Linked DNA regions of Homo sapiens: region 2 is linked to region 1. The links are contacts of gene promoters, found by promoter capture Hi-C in blood cells and fetal thymus (Javierre and others, 2016). All regions are on one chromosome and are shown on one strand. Each heading gives the region's core, a stretch centred on a gene start or on the middle of the fragment in contact. The rest is flanking DNA. Distances are from core to core; before and after follow the strand shown. Region 1 holds the start of CARMIL3 (capping protein regulator and myosin 1 linker 3). Region 2 has its middle 28 kb from the start of JPH4.

Region 1 (3,977 bases), core at 564-3,063:
TTTTCTTTGTCTTTTCTTTTCTTTTTTTGTTTAAGCCTCTCAAATGATTGCAAGGTACAGCTAGAATGGAGAAGCATTAATTCAGCCCTTCTAGGTTTGAGTTACTCTGCCCACCTCTAGAGCATTCTATGGCAGGCAGATTAAAGTGTCTCCTAACTATGCAGTCACTGATAAAATAAGAATTAGCACATTCTCACCAAATGATCCTGACTTTAAGGGACAAGTATAGATTCCTGAAAAAATTGTCTCTAAGTTGAACCTGTACAAATGGAATCATTTTAAACACACCATTTACTGTCACACAGACTCCCTGATACTTTAGTGTGTGCACATGTGAAACCATTTTTTTGAAGTATGAAATAATTACTATTTTACCTGTATAACTTTGGATTTTGGTGTCCTGAGCTCTCTAAAAAACAGTGTCTCTATAGTATTTGAATATTATGGGTAATGGTTTTTGCAGAGTACAGTATGCTTATACTAAATTATAACAGCATATCCTCATGGTAACCCTATTTGATAGGCGGAAAGTTTGTACACTGATCCTGAAAAGTTATCTGATAATTCTTGATTAAGCAAATTTCATTCCCCGTGTCCCAGGTGAGGGAGGCAGACCTGTTTGATTTTTACTCCCTTCCTTGCTTCCCCTATTCCCCAGGTTAGGCGAGCCAGAGGATTCTCTTGGCATCGTGTCTTTCCTGTGCTCTGAAGATGCCAGCTACCTCACTGGGGAAACAGTGATGGTGGGTGGAGGAACCCCGTCCCGCCTCTGAGGACCCGGAGACAGCCCACAGGCCAGAGTTGGGCTCTAGCTCCTGGTGCTGTTCCTGCATTCACCCACTGGCCTTTCCCACCTCTGCTCACCTTACTGTTCACCTCATCAAATCAGTTCTGCCCTGTGAAAAGATCCAGCCTTCCCTGCCGTCAAGGTGGTGTCTTACTCGGGATTCCTGCTGTTGTTGTGGCCTTGGGTAAAGGCCTCCCCTGAGAACACAGGACAGGCCTGCTGACAAGGCTGAGTCTACCTTGGCAAAGACCAAGATATTTTTTGCCCAGGCCACTGGGGAATTTGAGGGGAGATGAGAGAGAAGGAAGCTGGAGTGGAAGGAGCAGAGTTGCAAATTAACAACTTGCAAATGAGGTGCAAATAAAATGCAGATGATTGCGCGGCTTTGAATCGAATCGACGTTTTCTCAGTGCGGGGTGCTTAGCTGAGCAGAGAGCAGAAGTCTGGCCAGGCTGGATCTCTGGATCCCCCAGCCCTCCTCCCTGTCTCCAGGACCTGAGCGTGATGTTCAGGGGTGGAGGTGTCTGCAGAGCTGCCAACTGGAAGGAAGGTGGGACAGGAACTCCCAGGACGCCACGGGGATCCCCGAGGCAGGGCGAGTCGGGCGAGGGTGGGGAAGGAGGAACTCTCTAACACCTCCCCGCCCCTCGCCTCCCAGATCCAGCCATGCCCTCTCCCAGCATGGCCCTAGGTCCCGAGTCAGCAAGGACAAGCTGGAGGGGTCCTGAGCCGGTGGGGAATAGAGAAAGGCCCTGCAAGGTGCCCGGGCCCACAAACAAAAGAAATGGCTTCTGCCCACGGGCCCGAGGATTGAGTAGATGGAAAGCGGGGACGCTGCCCCCCGCCCCGAAGGCCCGGACACCGGGCGACGCACACCGGCCAGCTCACGCGGGAGCCAGCGAGAAGGGTCGGCGCGAGCGCGCGCGGGGTCTCACGCGGCTCGGCAGCGCGGAGCGCATGCTCAGTCCGGCAGCTCTCCCTGCTGGGCGGGGGAGCCGGCGCTCCGAGGCGGGGGGAGGAGCGCTCAAGCAGCCGCCCCTGACCGGAGCGGGCTCGGCCGCTGCTGCAGCGCTCAGCGCCCGGGCCCTGCTGAAGCCGGGTCTAGCATGTGCCGCGGCTCCCCGGCGGCGGCGGCGGCTCCTCTGCAGCAGCCTCAGCAGCAGCGGCCGCCATGGCCAAGCCCAGCGTGGAGCTCACCCGCGAGTTGCAAGGTACGAGGCTGCCTCGGTCTCTGGGACGCCCCGTCCGGGAGCATCCCAGACCCAGCGCGTTCCTCCCCGTGGTGCATCCCAGCCCGGTGTCTCACACCCCTCACCCCATGCATCCTGGCTCCAAGGCAGCCCCTGCATTCCAGTCCGGGCATCGCTGTCCCCGGAGCATCCTCCGCTGCCTGCCTCGCCTCACCCGGTCGGGACCTTCCTGTCCCGGAGCCGCCCGTCCCGCCCTTCGGTGACAGGTGCAGTTCCCTGGCGCTCCCTGGGGCTGACTCTCGGCGTTCCTAGCCCACCCTCGGCGAAGCGTCCAGTCTCCCATCCGGAGAGTCCCCGCTTCCCCGCCGGGCGGGGCCAAGCCCGCCCCTCCCTGCGATGGGAGCTGCCCCTGGTCCTGACCGCTGCGTGGCTTAACACCCTCCCTCCTCCCGGCCCCGCCCCGGAACTGGCCCTGAAGAGCCCCTTAGGAGCTGGGCAGCGCCCAGGCCAGTGGGGCAAAGAAAGGAGTCAGGGAAGAGGCCCTGGATTGGAGCTAAAACCAAGAGCAGGAGGGTCTCTGAGGCTCGCCTCCCACAGCCCCGTCCCAGCCTGCTTCCTTCTCGCTACCCACCACCCACACATCAAGGCTTCTCCCGTTTGCATGGTTCTCAGACCTAGCCCAAACCCAGGCCCGGCCACCCAGCACTGCCACAACCCTGACCCCCAGAGACGGGAGCACAGGCTAGCCCACGCAAAGCGCAGGATGCTCGTGGATACTCAGAGGCATGCTGCGCCGTGGCAATCTCCCACACCTGCACACACACACAGCACAATCATTAGACGTGTGTAAACACATCTTCACAGAGATGGCACCCCAGCACACGCGCGTGCACACACACACACACACACTATATCTGGGTGGTTCTGCCAGCAGATGGGTATGGGGCTCATTTAAACATTAATTCTTCTCCCCGCCCAACACACACAGAGGAAGTGTCTGGCTCTGTGCCCCTTCCACAGCATACTCATTCACACTTACCTGTCCCCACCAATGCCACACTCAGGCTCCCTGACATCTCCAGGAGGCATGCACACTCTCATAGTAAAGGCAGACACTCACACCCGGACCACCTAGAATATAGTCAAAGGGACACCCCACACCCCCACACAGTGACTCACTTTGTATGTGTCAATGGCTGTTGTAGTGCATGGGTTGGAAAAATTCTTCACACCCTCAGAAGTGTGAGACACACCCTCCCACAGACAGTCAGCAACCGTCCCCTGACTCAGGGACATCAGGAGCCGGAGTTTTCTCCACACCCTACTCCCTCTCTAATAGGAAGAGAAAAGTCAAAAAAGAGACAGTGTGAAAAGTCACCCAAGAAGGAATGCCCTCTGTCCCTGTCCTCCCTTCTTTGTCTCTCTGTTTCTCTCTTATCCCATTTGACCCTGACCCTGCCTCTATCTGGAGAGCTCTGGGAGGTGGGGGTGGCCAGGGTAAGGTGAAGCTCTGAGCAGGCTCCCACCCCCCCTCAGACAGCATCCGGAGGTGCCTGAGCCAAGGGGCCGTGCTCCAACAACATCATGTGAAGTTGGAGACAAAGCCCAAGAAGTTTGAGGACCGAGTGCTGGTGAGGGCACTGGGCATGTGGGGAGGGAGGAGGTGGCTGGCAAGGGCAGCTGGCCAGTAGAGGGCAGGGAGCCGGGAGGACAGAAGAGACAGAAGTGGGTGGACACTGAGGAGACAAAACCTGGGGGGAGGAGGCAGGGCTGGACTGTGTTGATGTCCAGAAGTCTAGGGTAGGGCATCGGGTTGGGGAGACACTCCAAGAGCAGAGCTGAAGGGCTTAAGGAGGGCAGGGCCACCAAGGCCCAGCAGCTGCCATGAGCTGCCGATTTTTTCCTCTCTCTGTAGGCCCTGACCTCCTGGCGCCTCCACCTCTTCCTCCTTAAAGTCCCGGCCAAGGTGAGTTGGGCTGAGGAGCAGGAGAGCACCTGGC
Region 2 (3,977 bases), core at 1,087-3,586, 450 kb before region 1:
GATTACAGGTGTGCACCATCATGCCCGGCTAATTTTTGTATTTTTAGTAGAGATACAGTTTCACCATGTTGGCCAGGCTGATCTCAAACTCCTGACCTCAGGTGATCCATCCGCCTCGGCCTCCCAAAGTACTGGGATTAGAGGTGTGAGCCACTGTGCCCAGCCTGGCTGGCTGCTTTAGTGCATCCCGTTTTATCAGCAAGGTCTTTGTGACCTGTATCTTGTGCTGAACTTCTATGTCATTCTGTCACTAAGAATGACTTAACCTCCTGGGAATGCACCCCAGTAGGTCCCAGCCTTATTTTACCCAGCCCCTATTCAAGATGGAATTGCTCTGCTTCAAACACCTCTGATAATACCTCACAGGTTGTTAAGATAATTATGTGGGAAAGTACCTGAGGATGTGCACCACCAGGACTGGTCTAGGAGTTCTTGGACCTGGCCTCCCTTCATTCCTTTCCTCTAGCTCCAGGGAGTTGGTGGTTATGGAGCTACTATGTGGCTCTCTGGCAAAGTTTCTGGGCTCAGAGCCTCAATCCCCAAGCACTGTGGCCTCTCAGAGCCTTTGGCTTGGTGCTTCCAGTCCCCAGTACTCTCCCTGGGGCTCTGGGGTAGGAGGCTGAATGCCAGGCCAGAGACCCCTTTGAGTCCTCATGGCTGGCATCTCCAGGCTGGGGAAGATGGAGAGGGTGCTTGTTTCCCGATCTTTGCAGAGTGGAAACTGGCTCAAGTCCCACACCCTGACTCAGCCACCCAATGTCTTCTGCTTCAAGGTTTCATTCTTTCTGGATGCCATTACCTGTCAGGAAAGGGGACAGGGATTGGCTATAGGTACTTCAAGCTTAAGCCTTGCATTGATTCACATAGGGCCTTAGCTTGCCAGAAAAAAAGGGCCCTGCTTAGAGGTGAATGTACAGGTGTTGAAGATGACATATCGACTCCCTGCACAATTCTGCCAACCCTAGCCCTGATTGTCTTCACTTGTCTACACACAGAGGCTAGGTTGTCAGTCCTGACCCAACTGAAACCAGTGATTCTTGACAGTAGAGAAGATCTTTTCTCTGGCAGGGCATATATTCCAATAGAGCTTCATAAATAGGAAAATCCACCAAGAGTACAATTATAAGAGGTGGAGAAAAGCCCACAGTTAGAGGATAAACTTGAAGGGGCCAACAAGAGAGATTTGTGCCAACAGCAGACATAGCTGTCTAGATACAATTAACAAAGGATTTGAGCTCCAAGCACTTATCAGAGACTCTCCCATGGCACTGCTCATTAAGTTTTATACATGGTAGTTGCTGACCGAATGACAGCACAAAAGACACAGACGGAAGGAAAAACACTGGGAGGAAGTGCTTGTGGAGGGAGACAGGCCTGTGTACAGCCTAGACTGTGGGACAGGTGGGAAGCATTGCAAACAGAAGGCATGGCAGGAAGCCCACTTATGCTGAACACGCACAAAGTCAGTGTCCCAGTCTTTGCGTGTCCCATGGCTATACCAACACATCCCAGGGTTGTCTGCCTTTTGAGTTTTCCCCGTGGCATGACACTCCTAATTCATGTTTAGGTTGTGGCCAACTCTGACTCACAGCTTTTCTTCTATTATTCTTGTACTCAGCCACTTGAGCACCAACCTACACTTGTGGGATATGACTTTCTAGCTCTATTTTTAGAAGAGTAACATCATTCTGAGAATGGAGGGGTCATCTTGCAGTTTCTTCTCCCCATAGTTGTCATGGTCAATCTTTTACATGAAAATTAGATGTGTCACTTCTGTGTTCAAACCCACTGCTCAGAGTAACAGCTAAGTCCTCATCGTGACTCAAAGCCTAACCCTCTCTGAGTTAGTTCCTATCCCTCTCTTTCAGCCTATTTACTCCAGGTACACTAAGCCTCCTTGCTGTCCCTCGAACTATGCCAAACACTCTCCTACCTCCTGCTTCTGCCTTGGTTTTTCCCACTGCCTGGAACATTCTTCACTCTCACTTATTTAAGCCTCTGCTCACTTGTCAACTCTTCAGAGAGGCCATCCTGATATGGGCCAGAGAAAAAAATCACTCACATCCTGCACTCCCTGTCCCCCTCACCTTGTTGTATTTTTCTTCAGAGCACTTCTCAGCACCTGCCATTTTTATGTCTACTTGTTTATTACCTGTCTCTCCCACAAGAATATAAGCACCTTGAAGGCATTTTTTTAACTCACTGCTGTATCAATACCACCTAGAGTAGTGCCTAGCACACAGGTGGTGGTGAATAAATATTTGCTGGATTAATTAATGTCATGAAGACGTTTAAAACACCCACAATCCTCTGTGCTCACAAGACAGCTCTTGGAGGGGCATCCCTGGTAATTCACCTGTGCTTGCTTACCCACAAGAATATCTGCAGGAGCAGGGAACTTCAGCCAGTGCCCAGGTGTGTTCTGTAATCAGAGGCAGGGCCAGGAAAGTGCAGTGTAGGGAGGGAGAGAGTCAGGAGGGAAGGTGGCTACCCCCGGGTTCCATGTGTTTGCCAACTGGGAGGATTGACAGTCCTGACACGGGCAGAGCCATCTCCATGCTTCTCTCCTGCATCACAAGGGACTGCCTCAGACCCTGCCTCTCACAAACTCTCACAAGAGGAGGCTGTGTCTTGTCTGCCTCCAGCTCCCGGGCCCCTGCCACCCCCTGAGGATGACTTCTGGAAGTTCCTCAGCTCATCACCCTCTTCGCAGGCATCCTCTTCACCTCTCAGCAGTGGCAACTGCTGCTCCCCAGGACCTTCTTCCTGAGCTTCTTTTCCCTTCAGTGTGGGGACACTCCTAATTTGCCTCTTCAGTCTTTGACTTCTCCCTTTTGGCTTCCTTTTCTTCTTCCCCTCCCTAAAATGGAAGGATTTCTGTGTCAGTCAGAGTCCAAGCAGGAAAACGATTCCATGCAAGGCATTTCTTACAGAAGGGATGTATTCAGGGAATTGACTACTCCAGTGTTGGAGGGTTGGAAGGGCAAATGGAGATGCTGCAGTGACCAGATATGGTAACTACAGGAGTTCCTTCTCAGGGCTGGAGGGACAGAAGAGAAGAAGTGGGGCCACCAGAGCCTCCAGGCTCAGCCTTGCCTGGCCCATGTTCAGACCACAGAATGAGGATGCATTGTGATGGGGTTGAGCCTCTGGGGCGCTGGTATCTCCAGGAGGTGCAGTTCACCTGCTGCCAGGAGTGTCTGAAGAATTGGGAGCTAGCACGGGCAACCTATTGCCCATAGGCCAAATCCAGCTGCCACCTGTTTCTCCATGGCCCACGAGCTAAGAATGTTCTTCACATTTTGGCCAGGCACGGGGCTCACGCCTGTAATCCCAGCACTTTGGGAGGCCGAGGCGGGTGGATGGTCTGAGGTCAGGAATTCGAGACCGGTCTGGCCAATGTGGCAAAATCCTGTTTCTACTAAAAATACAAAAAAAAAAAAAAATTAGCCAGTCATGGTGGTGCACACTTGTAGTCCCAGCTACTTGGGAAGCTGAGGCAGGAGAGTTGCTTGAACCCGGGAGGCAGAGGTTGCAGTGAGACGAGATTGCGCCACTCCACTCCAGACTGGGTGACAGAGCAAGAGTTCATCTCAAAAAACAAGCAAACAAAAAAAGAATATTCTTCATATTTTAAAAATGGCTGAAAATAAAACCGAAAAGGAAGATATATCTCATGGCACATGAAAATTATAAAACACTCAAACTCCAGTGTCCATGAATAAAGTTTTATTGCAATGTGGTCATCCTTATTCATTTATATATTGTTTATGTCTGCTCTTGCAGTACAATGGCAGAGTTGAGGAGTTATAACAGAGACCATATGGCCTGCAAAGCTTAAACTACTTCATGTCCAGCTCTTTACAGAAAAAGTTTGCTAAGCCCTAGGCTAGAGTCCTCCTGGAGGGACATTGACAGGAGCTGGAAACAGGAGGAAAACCCTTCTCTCACCCTATGTCCTTCAGCCACGTCTCAGT

The links. Contacts are between HindIII fragments. The CHiCAGO score rates a contact against its expected background, and 5 or more counts as called.
Region 2: a fragment that was not itself captured here is called in contact with the fragment with the promoter of CARMIL3 in region 1 in 1 of 17 cell types (erythroblasts); the score reaches 5.4 in erythroblasts.

Annotation. Positions count from the first base shown.
Region 1 is chr14:24,050,196-24,054,172 of GRCh38, forward strand. It overlaps CARMIL3 (capping protein regulator and myosin 1 linker 3), which reads left to right and starts at 1,814. Exons shown (of 40, transcript NM_138360.4): 1 at 1,814-1,998; 2 at 3,514-3,608; 3 at 3,893-3,943. The coding sequence starts at 1,959. It also overlaps the pseudogene DHRS4L1. RefSeq lists silencers at 1,607-1,906, 2,177-2,266, 2,287-2,456 and an enhancer at 2,472-3,171. The HindIII fragment of the contact is 12,786 bases long and covers 1-3,977 here.
Region 2 is chr14:23,604,624-23,608,600 of GRCh38, forward strand. No RefSeq gene overlaps it. Among named protein-coding and RNA genes, the nearest start is that of JPH4, 28 kb to the left of the region's middle. RefSeq lists an enhancer at 1,566-1,775. The HindIII fragment of the contact is 2,995 bases long and covers 840-3,834 here.